2 separate regions of the Homo sapiens genome follow, and region 1 is linked to region 2. The links are contacts of gene promoters, found by promoter capture Hi-C in blood cells and fetal thymus (Javierre and others, 2016). All regions are on one chromosome and are shown on one strand. The core of a region is centred on a gene start or on the middle of the fragment in contact, and the rest is flanking DNA. Distances in the headings are between cores, read along the strand shown.

Region 1 (6,928 bases), core at 3,971-6,470, 740 kb after region 2:
AGGCTCACTCATTCAAAAGGGTTAACTCCTAAATTATAGGTCACAATGAATTAGCCAGTGAACAAATATTTTACACATCATAATTTAGGTAATTAGATTCTTCATATTTTTAAAAAGGGAAATTACTAAAAGATATCCAGGACTTAAAATAATGGAAAATTTTACCACTTGTCTGATAGAGTCATTGGATTAAAAGAAATTTACACATTCAAAAAGGCAAACAATGACCCCCATGATTAAATACAAATCAAAACTCCAAATTACTAGAAGCAAATCAAATCAACATTCAGATATTCAAATGCAAGGGGAAGGAGAAAGCACATCATAAAAACATTATAGAGAATAAAATGTTAACATAAATGCTGTCTGCATGGATCCTTCTAAATTTACTAAAACCAAGTAAACCTGGACTTCATTCTTCAAAGAAAAAAACATTTAAAAAACCAAAAATGTTGATGTTCAATGTTATGCATTTATATACTCACCATCCAAATTGATCAATGGTTCTGCATTTTTAGTTGCATTGTCAGCAGTTTTTGAATTATCAGGTACTAAATCCTTGTATTTTTCAGCTATAAAAACAGGCAAAAATATAATTTGTACAACTGCAACTCAAGGTAAAATGACTACTGCTATTTACCAAATTTAACTGAGCCAAAATGATTACAGGTTGAGTTTCCCTTACTGGAAATGCCAATAATTTCCAATTTTAAATTTTTTCAGACTTCGGATTATCTGCATATATAAAATGGGATATTTTGGGGATGGGACTGAAGTCTAAACACAAAATTCATTTTTATGTTCAATGTACAACTTATACACATAGCCTGAAGGTAATTTCATATAATATTTTTAATAATTTTGTGCATGAAATAAAGTTTGTGTTAAGTGCTTATGTGTGGAAATTTCTACTTGTGTCCTCATGTCAGTGCTCAAAAAGTTTTGGATTTTGGAGCATTTAGGATTTCAGATTCTCGGATTAGGGATGCTTAACCTGTATAAGCATAAAACAATTCATTCAATCAAGCTTAATTTTTGCTATAGAAAATGTAAAAAGACAATGTAACTATCTTTTTGATTAAGCTAAAGCAATTACTGGACTATGTGACACAAATATCTTTTCATTAACATTTCTAAAGGCAATCATTTCAAACATGTAAATTTTAGGAAGGTAAAAATCTGCTTTTACAGCTTCCTCTGAAATCTGGGGTAGAAGAATGGGAGGAGGGTTAAGTATAGGTTACGTAAGATTAAATACAAACTCATTAAAAAGTACGCTTCCCCCCATCTTCTTTTGAATGCTGTACATAAAATCCAAAAACCTTGCTTTCCCCAAAAAAATCAATACATCAAATACACCATCATATACAAACCTCAAACTTATTTCATGGAAACTTGAAATTCAGAATTCCAAAGGTAGATTTTATTATTTTCATTTGAAAAACAATACTTCAAAGGAATTCAAAAATAAAAACACTTATTAATAATTCACTAAACTTAATGTTCAAAATGGCATCTTAGGCTATACAGTGCTTATGGGATCTGTTAATGAAACGAGGAAAAAATAAAAGCATAAAATTTAAGTCAGAGTTAAAAAGGCTTCCACTGGCCAAATCTGGAACAGTATCAACAGCAAAATACGTGATGACAGAAAGGATTATAATCCATTGAATAAAATAAAAATCCATGTATCTATACTGATTTAAACAAGTAAATTAGAGATGGGAAAACTTACAAGAGAAAGCCAACAAATAAATGTAGAAAAAATGATGAAATTAGAGAACACCTTTTGTCGATTAACATAATAAATGACTGAGGCAAGAATCATCATATGGTTGCTAAAACTAGTGGGGGAAACTTGAGGCGCAAAAACATAATTGATACAGTCTCAAAGTACCTCCCCACAAGATATATTTATTACAAAGAGGAAAATAGTAACTTTACAGTGGAGAAACCATAACCTAGTGATCAAAGTAACATAACTAGTAATGGGACATATCGCTATCACGTATCTCCTAATATGATGCACTAAAAAGAACACATCACTTCTGTGTTACTCCTAACAAAAGTATAAACCCCAAATCTAATCATGAGGAAACATCATATAAATCCAAATTGAGGGACACTCTACAAAATAAATGTCAGGGTCATGAAGCACAAATAAAGACAGGAACTGTTCCAGATTTTAAGATACTAAGACAGATGTAACAACTAATGCGGTGCATAATCCAGGATTGCTCTGGGTTATTTTTTTCTTTCGAGAGAAGTGGGGGGTTTGGTAAAATGTGAATAAATAATAGTATATCAAAGATAACTTCCTGATTTTGATCACTGTACTGTGGTTATATAAGACAAAGTTGTTTTTAGGAAATGCACTTTAAAGTGTTTAAGAGTAAAAAGGAATCATCTATAATTTACTATCAAATGGTTTGGAAAAAAATGGTGTGTGCCTCTGTGTAGAGAGAAGGATGAAGCAAATGAGGTAACACGCTACATTTGTAGACTTGAGGTATATGAAAATCTTTGTACTATTTTGTAATTTTTCTATACATCTGAAATTATACATTTAAAAAATTTCAGTTATTGATCATGTTGACAAGCTACCAAAAGGCTTCAAAAAATAGTAGAGCGCAAATAATAAAAACTCACAATGGTTTCAGCAAATTTTAAAATAAGTAACTTAAAAGTCAAGGAGGCAACATATCAATGTAAAACCACAAAAGAACATCAGCGCCTCCTACCGATTAGAGACAGTATTATTTGACCAATTTTCAAGTCTGTTTTTGCAATTCTGAATTTTAATAAACAAAACTTGTTTTCTAGCTTAGACTTTTAATATACTTTTGATACCATTCACCTTCAAGTATATGTTGACTTCCTTTTTCAATATTGAAAAATTTACATTCCACACACAAGCTTCTTTTATTCACTAAAAGAACATGCTATTACTGAGAAATACATGTACTTACTAAAGTCAACTGCAGGTATACATGACCATATGCATCTACCATTGAAGGTTAACGGGTTATAAAAATGGAACAAATAGAATAAAACAAATAAACTGAGATGTAAGAATTTGGGAATAAATGAAAAACAGTTTTGATAAGCTACAAATTGGCTCATATACAATTCCTACCAATCCAGAGCAGGGTAGATAAAAAGACCTTGTTAAAGGCCCTAAAATCAATACTACACTAAAGCCATAAGGCTTATGAATACATGTATTTTCTAAAGAAAGAAAAGTTTTTTTTTTTTAAATTAAATGGAAAAGTAAACGAAGTCTCAAATTGAGCTTTCCTTAAGATTTTTGCCATAAGGCTTCTGAAATTTAAGTCTGAGGCATCAGCAAAAAATTGGCTGATGCTCCAAATCAGTGTATGTAAACACTCACATATACTGCATTCGCCACACATTACTGAAATTGATAAGCACCTGTTGTGTGCAAGAAACTATGTCAGGTACTGTGACAGACACAATATTGACCTGTACCCCCCAAGATGTCCATGTCCTGATCCCTGGAACCTGTGTATGTGTTACCTTACATGGCAAGATTTGCAAATATGATAAAATTAAGGATCTTGAGATAGGGGATTATCCTGGATTATCCAGGTGGGCTCAGGAGGATCAGAGCCAGAGACAAAGTTATGACAATGGAAGCAGAATCAGATAAGAGACTGGAAAATGCTATGCTGCTAGACTTGAAGAAGGAAGAAGGGGCCAGAGTCAAGGAATTCAGGCAGCCTCTAGAAGTTAAAAAAGGAAAGAAACAGATTCCCCCGAGAGCCTCCAAAAGGAACCTGCCTTGCTGACAACTTGACATGAACCCAGTGAGGCTAATGTTGGCCTTCTCATTCTAAAATAATAAATTGTGTTTTCAGTCACTGAGTTTGTAGTAATTTGTTACAGCATCAATTGGAAGCTAAGAGAGGTACCATGTAGGAATCAAAGCTGAGTATCAGTTTACAAATTACTGGGACGAATAAGACATAGAAGCAAAATGGAAAGTGGTTAATGACTTAAAATGTATAGGGTTAAAAGCTATGGAAGTTCAGAGGGAAATTATACTGCTGCTAAGACATAAGACAGCATATGAGATGGATCTTAAAAAGATGGGTAGGATTTAGATGTGTAGATAGAATGAAATGGTATATTAGCCAAGGGAAAAGTGTGAACAAAGAAACAGAGGGGGAAATGGGATATAAACAGGAAGCACTATTATTCTAATTTAGCTGGGATGTCAAGATGTGAATACAGGTTGGATATCAGTCATCATTAACTACCATGCTAAGGAGCTTAAAATTCTTTTTATAGAAAATGGGAAATTAGTGTTTATGGATATGTATGTTTATTAATATGAATATGTAACTGGAACTGTTCTTTGGAAACAAGGAGTAAGTGGCATCCTAAAATAGATTAACGTTTCAGAAAGTTAGCTTGGTTGGCCATGCAGTTAAGAACAGAAGGTGACACTAATGGGAGATATTATAATACTCCTGGCAGAAAGTGACAAGAGCCTGAATTAGGATTATGCCAATGGGAATGAAGATACAACAAACATGAGAAAAAGTCAGTGTAGGTGGGATGAAGGGAAAGGGATAAGCCAAGATATAAAAAGGCTTCCAAAGTAAATAATTAAGAAGACTGTAACTAACCGAAAAACACAAAATGCAGGGGATGCAGATAAGATAATCAAATCTTGCATTTAGATGTTGGCAGGCCTTTCAAAATGAAATGGTCTAATAAGAGAAAACACCCGTTTAAAGAAAAATTGTTTTTACTATAGGTACTAACATTCAGAAGCTTCCAACCATAGAAGTATCTGTGCTAAGACAGTAAACATAAGTAATATATTCTGGCCTATAGAGTATTAATGTATATTGGCATTAGACATGTTTCAGTCTTTTGAGAAATTACCTACTGCAACAACACTTCAAAGTCCCATCAATTCTGGGACACTAAAAACAATTTAATTTGAAAGGCTAAGGTGCAGACCATATTATCAAAGTAGTGTTACTCTGTGAGAAGACAGTCAATTAGCCTTCTCCAGAGGGCACCATTTCCAAATTCTAACAGAAATATATAAACACCAATGAAAGACAATAAAAGTGCTTTTAACTTGTGATAAGAATAAACCAAAGGTAAAATAGTACTAGACAAAACAAACTGCAAAGTTCCCTACATTTTCACACTCCCTTTCCCATCTTTCCTCTCTCTTTAAAATACACATTCCCCACAAAACGTACCATTATCTCCATATTCAAGTCTAACAGCTAAACCAAGAAGCCAGTCAATAGCTTCTTGTCGATCTTGAATCTTGAAAGGACAGTTAACATCTCTGAGATACTGTGAGGGGGAAGAAAAGAAAACCACCAGTTTCATTATTACCATAAAGTCACAGAAAAAAGAATGGGAGAGTTGAAAGAGACCTTAGTTTGGATCTCTAACAATTTTTTAATAACATTACTACACTTTTGATGCAATTATATAACCCAACAGAAGGGAACATTTAAGTGTATCATCTTAAGAAAAAAAATAGAATACGACAACTTCCTCATTTTATAGATGAGAAAGCTGAGGCCTAGAGATTGACACTTGCCAAGGGTTACACAACTTACACCTGGGACTAGAATCTAAGCTTTCTGATTCCTAGTCTCAATACACATAGAGCAATTAACTAAAAAGAATAACTTTAAAAAGGATATACAATAAATCATTATCTATCTAAACCTTAACTTTCATATTATGGAAATGCCACTGAAAAGAGTAGCCATGTAACATACATGTAGGGTGTAACCAAGTAATTTAAATAAATGTCAGAAGCTGTATATTCAAATAAATGTTGCATATAATAGTATTATATGTAACATTAATTATATGTAATATAAGATTATAATAAAATCAACTTGAAGGATAATAACTGTTTAGGTTCTGATATGTTGAAATTATTCTTACTGTCATTCCAGGTGTTTCACATCAGAAATACGTGTGTGTATATGTACATATATACACACACATACATACATATTTCTTTTTTTTGAGACAGAGTCTTGTTCTGTTGCCCAGGCTGGAGTGCAATGGCACAATCTTGGCTCACTGCAACCTCCGCCTCCTGAGTTCAAATGATTCTCCTGGCTCAGCCCCCTGGGCAGCTGAGATTACACACATGCGCCACCACACCTGGCTAATTTTGTGTTTTTAGTAGAGACGGGGTTTCGCCACGTTGGCCCGGCTGGTCTCGAACCCCTGACCTCAGGTGATCCACCCATCTTGGCTTCCCAAACTGCTTGGATTATAGGCATGAGCCACCGTGCCCAGCCTAGACAATTTTTTATATTCTCCAGATACCTTTCTACATGCAGAATTCTGTACTGTCTTGTACACATGAATAGACCATAAAATGTAATATAAACAAACATAAAATCCTAAAAATATATTTCAAAGTTTTAAGAAGTCCACTGAAAATTTTAAAAATATTTTCTAAGAGCAAAGGAAAAGAATACAGTAGTATTAATAGTAGTAGTATAGAGGCATTGGCAGTAATAAGCTTATCACACTTGCTATGCGCCAGGGACTTCTGTGAACAATTACTCATTAAAAACAAAGCCACACTTATGAGATAGGTATCATTGTTACCCTCACTTATTGATGAAAAAATTGAGACACGGAAAGGTTAATAACAATGATGTAATTTATACAATCCCTAATTTATAAAATCACTGATTCTAGGGAGAAAGTGCCTAATCACACTGCTCTCGCAAATGAAAAACTTAGCCTTTTTCAAGAAAAATATCTCACTCATCAAATATAACTGATGAAAATGTTTAATGTAAGAAATGACACTAAAAGCATTTTTATTCTAATCTGAGAATTCTTTTTTATGCAAAAGTGTTACTAAAACTAAATCAATGGGAAAATGATTCAAGGCACA
Region 2 (7,145 bases), core at 170-2,669:
GCGCCTGTAGTTCCAGCTACTCAGGAGGCTGAGGCAGGAGAATCGCTTGAACCCGGAAGGCGGAGGTTGCAGTGAGCCGAGATCGCGCCACATTGCACTCCAGCCTGGCGACAGAGCAAGACTCCGTCTCAAAAAAAAAAAAAAAAAAAAAGTGAACCTCCAATGAAGATATTCAATAGAATAAATATTCGGAATAAATTGAATGGTCTCCTAAAAATAGGGCTTTATTTTTCCCAACTACTTTAAAGGTATTTTTAACTAGCGATGTTAGATTTTCTTTCTTAATCCTACTAAAGTATAGCTGAGTATCTTCGTCTTGTTAATTTAGCCTCCAGAAAATTCTAATTTAGTAGTCTGCAATGCCGTAAAATGTTAAACTAGCAACAGATGAAAAAAAATCCGAGTAGAAACAGCAGGCAGGGATCTAAGGTGGAGTAAAAATAGCCACAAATTAGAAACCAGGAGAAAAGGTATATAGTATTTTACTTTCAATATTAATTTTCCTCCAAAGGTCAAGATTTCTGATTAAGAGTTCTCAGATTAAGATGAGCTAGCTTTGAGACACTTTGTTGTGCGGGTCATAGCTTTGTCTAAAAACAAACAAAAAACTTTGGGAAACTTTTCGAAGGCGCGCTTCCAAACTTCAGGCGCCGAGTCTATTTCACATGTGGGGCCATGTGTCCCACAAGTGAATCGTTTACACCACAGATATTCCTCAAAAGGAGACTAAACCAACTTCGCTCTCTTGTTACTTTGACAATAAAAGAGGAACCTTACTCCAGGTCAGTCCTGGATGCCAAGCCTAGGGACTAAGGGATTGCTTTTCCTCTTCTCAAATGTAAGTACACCAGACGCTGCCCCTCCGCGGGGTCTGGAGAGGACGAGCAACTCAGTGGGGATTGGAGCCGACCGCTCGGCTTCAGAGGTCCCGGGACGCCCTTAGGAGGCAGGGCGCCCGTACAGGTGGCGGCTAAGACGGTTGGGGACTGGGGTCGCCCCTCGGCCGGAGCCACAGGGAGAGGCCTGTGCGTGGCAGCCACGGGAGCGACTCACCTCGGCGTCTTCCTTGCACTGTGGAAGGGAAGGGAACTCCAGCTTCACGTCCTCCATGGTGCTGGCCCGCGGGCTGGTGGGTGGGGTGGGAGAGTGTTACACAGCCGGCCGACCCTCGGGCTGGCTGCGGCGGCGGAAGGAAGGAGGGCCGGCGGAGCGGAGGGCTGACAGGAGGGCGGCGGGATTACAACTAACACACGCAGACTACAGGGTCCCAGTGACTCCAGCAGCGGCGGCGGCGAAGACAGGGAAGAGGAGGGTCGGGCGTCTTACACCCGGCCGCCATGCCGCTGCCGTCTCCCTCCCCCAGAGTCTCCGTACCCCTCAGGCCGCCCAGGATCCAGCACAGGAACCAGCCCGACAACCGTCTCCCCGCCTCCTTCCCGCCCCCTCCACCCGCGTCGCCTCAGCCAATCCCAGCCCACGCTCGCCTTCTGCCCGCCCTCCGCCGCCGCCAGGTGTCAGCGCGCCACCGCCCTGCTCCGCCCCTTCGCTAGAGCGCAGACGCTTGGGGGTGGGGGGGGCGGAGCCTCGGATGCTGCTAGGCCACAGCTCACCCGGCGTGGAGGAGGCGGGGCTGCGGTGGGACAGGACGAGTGAAGGTCCTGGGAAAGGCAGTGGGGCGGTCCGAGCCAGCTCCGCCCTTTCCAGACAGGACGTAGAGCCCTTCTTTAACATAAGAACAAACAGGCAAAACAGGCTACCCACCAGTGGCATCCGAAAGGAAAGCTATAGTTTCTCCCCTCTCAAAATTCTGCGCAATCTATGCTGAGTTTATAACCAAATGACTAATAAATGAAGAGTTCAATTTAAAATCACGTGGTGCCATACAGAAAATAAAATACCCATCACCTTTAAGCAAAGAATTAAACGGCTCAATTTAAAATTTTTTAAAGTATTTTAAGAGTACTTGAAAATACAACTCAGTTTAGATTACCTAGAAAATATCAAGAATGGCAACTAGAAAAAAATCAGAAAAAGGAACTGATAGCTGACTCAGTAAATTGTATATAATACTGTAAAATTTCTTCCATTATTATATTTTGAAATAAAAATAATAAACCAGATGGCTTTCAATATCTTTTAAAAGGAGTTTGCCAGCCTGAGCAAAATAGTAAGACCCCCCTCTCTAAAAAACAATTTTAAAATTCCCTGGGTGTGGTGGCGTTATGCCTGTAAACCCATGGTGAAAAGATTTGGGCCGGGCGCGGAGGCTCACGCCTGTAATCCCAGCACTTTGGGCGGCTGAGGCGTGTGGATCACCTGAGGTCGGGAGTTTGAGACCAGCCTGACCAACATGGAGAAACCCCGTCTCTACTAAAAATACAAAAATTAGCTGGGTGTGGTGGCGCATGCCAGTAATCGCAGCTACTTAGAAGGCTGAGGCAGGAGAACCGCTTAAATCCGGGAGGCGGAGGTTGCAATGAGCTGAGATAGTGCAATGGCACTACAGCCTGGGCAACAAGAGCGAAACTCCATCTCAAAAAAAATCAAAAATAAAAAAAGAAAGAAAGGATTTGTACACCAAATTGATTCTTTAAAAAACCACCGCCAGCACAAAGGTAAAAGGCAAGATAGTCACTCCTTAACTAAATGCAAATTATAAGTGAAAAGATCACATAGATATTTGACTTAAACCTCCCCCTACATTCTACTTTTTGTCACATAAAATGCACTGCCAACACATAGAAATAGAACTGTACAATAATTTGAGTATGAGATGGCTAACTTGACCACTCCATTTTCTATTTTAACTGTTCATCTTCTAAAATTATAAAAAGGCACATAATATCCTGCTAGGAAGTTTTTAATTTGAAGAATTATTGTATAATTAGCTAGGTCATGTATTTTTGGTTCTTTAGTGTTTATGAAACTGAAGTTGTCTTTTCTTTTCACCAGCATCTTTAATAATTATTGATGCCCAATGATGATTCCTTTGTGTACTTTGTTATAGCTTTTATTGCCAGATGATATAAGAATCATGTATAGGTAACAGAAATCATGTTTTGAACATTTCTGACACTCCTACATCCCCTACATCATACACTCTTAGCCAGGTATCCATACATACCTAAAGAGTCCTTGGATGAGCTTGGGAAACAATAAATTTCCTGAAATTATAGTATACGCAAAATTGTATGTTAGAATTTTTCCTGGAAGAGGGTCCAGACCTCCACATCCTCAACAGGGACCTATCGTCTTACATAAACCAAGAAAACCCAGTCACATATTAGCAAATATTACGTTGAATCATACTCTTTAAAAAGTTATGGATGTGCATGTATATTTTCAATTAACCAACAATGAGCTTAATCACAGTAGATGAAGAATATGTAAACACTTTCTGAAAGGAGGAGTACAGACATACCCACACATCCATGTTTTATTTAAGAAGATGATCTTATGAACATTAAGTATGTGTACTATTTTAAAATAATATTCAAAAATCCACAATCCATCTGGGTTATCAAATAGTTTACTTGCTAAAGAACCTAAAGGACCACAGTAAATATACTCAGAAAAGACAAGAATATATATGTAGGAGAACTGAATCAAACAGATTTTATTCAACTTTTTAGATGAGGAAAACAAATGATACAAAATAAGTCATAAGAAATGCTTTCTTATACCACTATCTCAAACCACTTTCAATATTTTACAAAATGCTCACGCAGCAAATATGAAAAGCTTCAACACTTTCCCTTTGTAACTTGCTGCAATAAATGCAACTTTAACAAACATACAAATTTCTTCTGTATCTTAAAAGTTGAATTACTAATTTTTATGATGTTACTCATATTTTTATTCATATACTTTTAATGACATCATTACCAATACATACATTATTTTCTTTAACTTTATTTTTACAATAAGCCAACATCTGTCATGCAGCCATCAAAAATCTTACAGTAAATTACACAGGTTTGTAGTCCAATTTAGACTCCAGCTTCTTAGAATCAGCCACTTTTCTGACTGCTTTCATGAAGTCTTCCTGTACTACAAAATCATGATCAGCACGAATTGCGAACATACCTGTAGAGAATAAAACAACATGACTGCTATATATCACATATGAATTATATGTTCATTATAAGAAAAACAATATAATTCTATGGAATAAATGTGAAGCTTAGATTTATTACTTCTGAGCCAGTAGTTGTAATTTGCTAAAAACCACTATCTTTTTTCAATTAAAATCCACAGGCCGGGTGCGGTGGCTCACGCCTGTAATCCCAACACTTTGGGAGGCCAAGATGGGCAGATTGCAATGTCAAGAGATTAAGACCATCCTGGCCAACACGGTGAAACCCCATCTCTACTAAAAATACAAAAAAAAAAAAAAATTAGCTGGGCATGGTGGCGCGCGCCTGTAGTCCCAGCTACTCGGGAGGCTAAGGCAGGAGAATGGCTTGAACCCAGGAGGCGGAGGTTGCAGTGAGCTGAGATAGTGGCACTGCACTCCAGCCTGGCAACAGAGCGAGACCCCATCTCAAAAAAAAAAAAAAAAAAAAATCCATAGCGGTGTTGTGATTATGTTCTAAAACAAAAACAGGTATGACCATTATATGAATATTTAACATCCGGTTCAAGGCTGGGCACGGTGGCTCACACCTGTAATCCCAACACTTTGGGAGGCCAAGGTGGACGGATTACCTGGGGTCGGGAGTTCGAGACCAGCCTAGCCAACATGGTAAAACCCCGTTTCTACTAAAAACACAAAAATTAGCTGGGCGTAGTAGTGGGCATCTGTAACCCCAGCTACTTGGGAGGCTGAGGCAGGAGAATCGCTTGAACCCGGGAGGCAGAGGTTGCAGTGAGCCAAGATCGCACCACTGCACTCCAGTCTGGGTGACAGAGTGAGGCTCTGTCTCAAAAAAATAAAATAAAATAAAATCAGGCTTAAATGGTCCCTGTATCTGATTGTAGCTCTTAATAAAAACAAGCATAAAAAACCGAAGCAATCAAAACTACCAACACATACACATTTTAAGCGTAACTTAACTTGACAGGAAGCAATTTGCTGGAAGGCACACATTTATGGGGGAAAAAAAATCTTGAGTAAGTTTGATAGCCATTCTTTGTTAATAATCAAAAACGTTGAGAATAGGGAATCATATAGAAAGCCAACAGCGGGTTTTAGCAAAACTCGGAGTCATTATTCATGTGTTAAAATTTACCTAATTTATGTACAAATTGGTATTTTTATTTGATTCATATTTGAGTATCACAACTCAATTTTTTCCTTCAACTTTTTGACAAGTACCTTCTCAAACAGTATTTGACAAAGGGGTAAAAGTTTCCTTGTATGCAGTTTTTTAAACATTAGTTGTGTTATGGATATGGGTCCCAGATTTTGAGATAATCCTAACTCATGATAAACTAAAGCAGGTAAGTTTATTGCTATCTACTAATTAAATGAATTCTAAAATTTCCACTGAGGATCTGCCTGTATTGAATTTTCACTTACATAAAATGAGGGAGTTAATATAGAAGATTTCAAGGATTACTTCCTTTCTAGATTTCTACATAAGGAAACAATCTATGTTGTCCTAGAAACCGGGTGAATGGAAATGACTGATTTTTAAAAAATAACAAAGTTTCAAAACTTGTTTAGAAAGCTACAGTGAAACTAGGTAAGTTATTTTTGTAAACCTTGCACACATGGCTATTTTCCAAATCACTTTAGTGAATAAGTAAATCTGCACAAGAGATGCCTGGCCAGGCCTGGTAGCTTGTGCCTGTAATCCCAGCATTTTGGGAGGCCCAGGTGGGTGGATTACTTGGGCCCAGGAATTTGAGACCAGCCTGGACAACATGGTGAAACCCGTCTCTACAAAAAATACAAAAATTAGCTGGGTGTGGTGGCGCACGCCTATAGTCCCAGCTACTGGAAGATAAAGGAGAAATGATCAGGTCTGGGCTACAGGGAGCAGTGATCATGCCACTGCACTCCAGCCTGGGCCAGAGTGAGACTCCGTCTCAAAAGAAAAAATAAAATAGAGATGTATTATAATCCAAAAGAGATAATGTCAGGACCTGAACAGGAAGGGCAACTGTAGTTGAATCAAGTGTATTTTAACTTACGAAAAATGTTAACAAAAAAGCCTTCAAGTCTAAAAAGAAGATAAAAATTTCAGTATGTTTCCAGATGTGAATGTCCCACCTAGTTAAAAAAGAACTACAATTTTAATCCACACAGAAGTTATAGCTCATTTGCAATAACTAAAGGTAAATTTGTAAGAATATGTAAGGAAAAAAAGCGTATATTTTGATAGCAACAGCCTTTAGGTTCACTGCACAGCTTGCATTTGGATTACAATCTAACCAAAGCAATCTTCTGATAATAATTTGGTCTGGTTTACATTTTGGAAAGAGAATGTCATAAATTACTCTAACTTGTTCAAGCTATATGACAGTTTACCTCTAAATAGTTTAGTTTATTGATAACGCTCTGTGAGCATGATTTACCCTAATTTGCATTGACAGCATTTCTAGACGTGAACAGAAGTATCTGACCTGCATATCTGATGCAGATACTGACTCACAGCATACCCAATACCCATGAAGATACCTGTACTGAGAAGCCCTCCCTGAGCAGCCACTTTAAACACTGTGTTGAATTTACTAAGGCTAAACATGATATGAAAAGCAAGAGGAAATCACATATTCTAATACTTAAGAAAATCTATAACCTATAAAGTCAGTAACTATACTGTAGAAGTTTATTTTTTCTATTTAAAGATTCTGTATGGAAGACAAAAACTAAATGATTCTAGGTAGGGTATTAAAGCTACTTGGTACTGGAAATAAAAATAGCATCACACAATTTTTACATACCATGTAGAAGTGAAAAAAATAGTATCACACAATCCACAGAGAATTATATTTAAATACTACATTTTACACAAATGGCATGATCACATAATTCATAAATCAATCTTTCAAAACACTGCTCACAGACTAGTATTAGACAACATACACAATTCATTTTGCAGCAGATACCTCTGGTGCTGGCCCATTCTAATTCCAGCCACAGGTGTGGTAGGCAATTCTGTAGCACCTCAGACTTACTTTAGGGGGCCAGTGTTCTA

Evidence for each region. The method cuts DNA at HindIII sites, captures the fragments that hold promoters and counts their contacts. A CHiCAGO score of 5 or more calls a contact.
Region 1: a contact is called between a fragment that was not itself captured here and the fragment with the promoter of STYX in region 2, in 4 of 17 cell types (naive CD8 T cells, naive B cells, total B cells and 1 more). The highest score is 11.5, in naive CD8 T cells.

What each region holds. Positions count from the first base shown.
Region 1 is chr14:51,992,138-51,999,065 of GRCh38, reverse strand. RTRAF (RNA transcription, translation and transport factor) reads right to left here. Exons shown (of 8, transcript NM_016039.3): 3 at 5,244-5,343; 4 at 486-572. Among named protein-coding and RNA genes, the nearest start is that of RTRAF, 6.1 kb to the right of the region's middle. The HindIII fragment of the contact is 835 bases long and covers 4,803-5,637 here.
Region 2 is chr14:52,724,440-52,731,584 of GRCh38, reverse strand. It overlaps STYX (serine/threonine/tyrosine interacting protein), which reads right to left and starts at 1,419. Exons shown (of 11, transcript NM_145251.4): 1 at 1,054-1,419. The coding sequence starts at 1,110. PSMC6 (proteasome 26S subunit, ATPase 6) reads right to left here. Exons shown (of 14, transcript NM_002806.5): 14 at 2,995-4,086. The coding sequence ends at 3,968. RefSeq lists silencers at 1,125-1,204, 1,275-1,734. The HindIII fragment of the contact is 7,384 bases long and covers 1-3,743 here.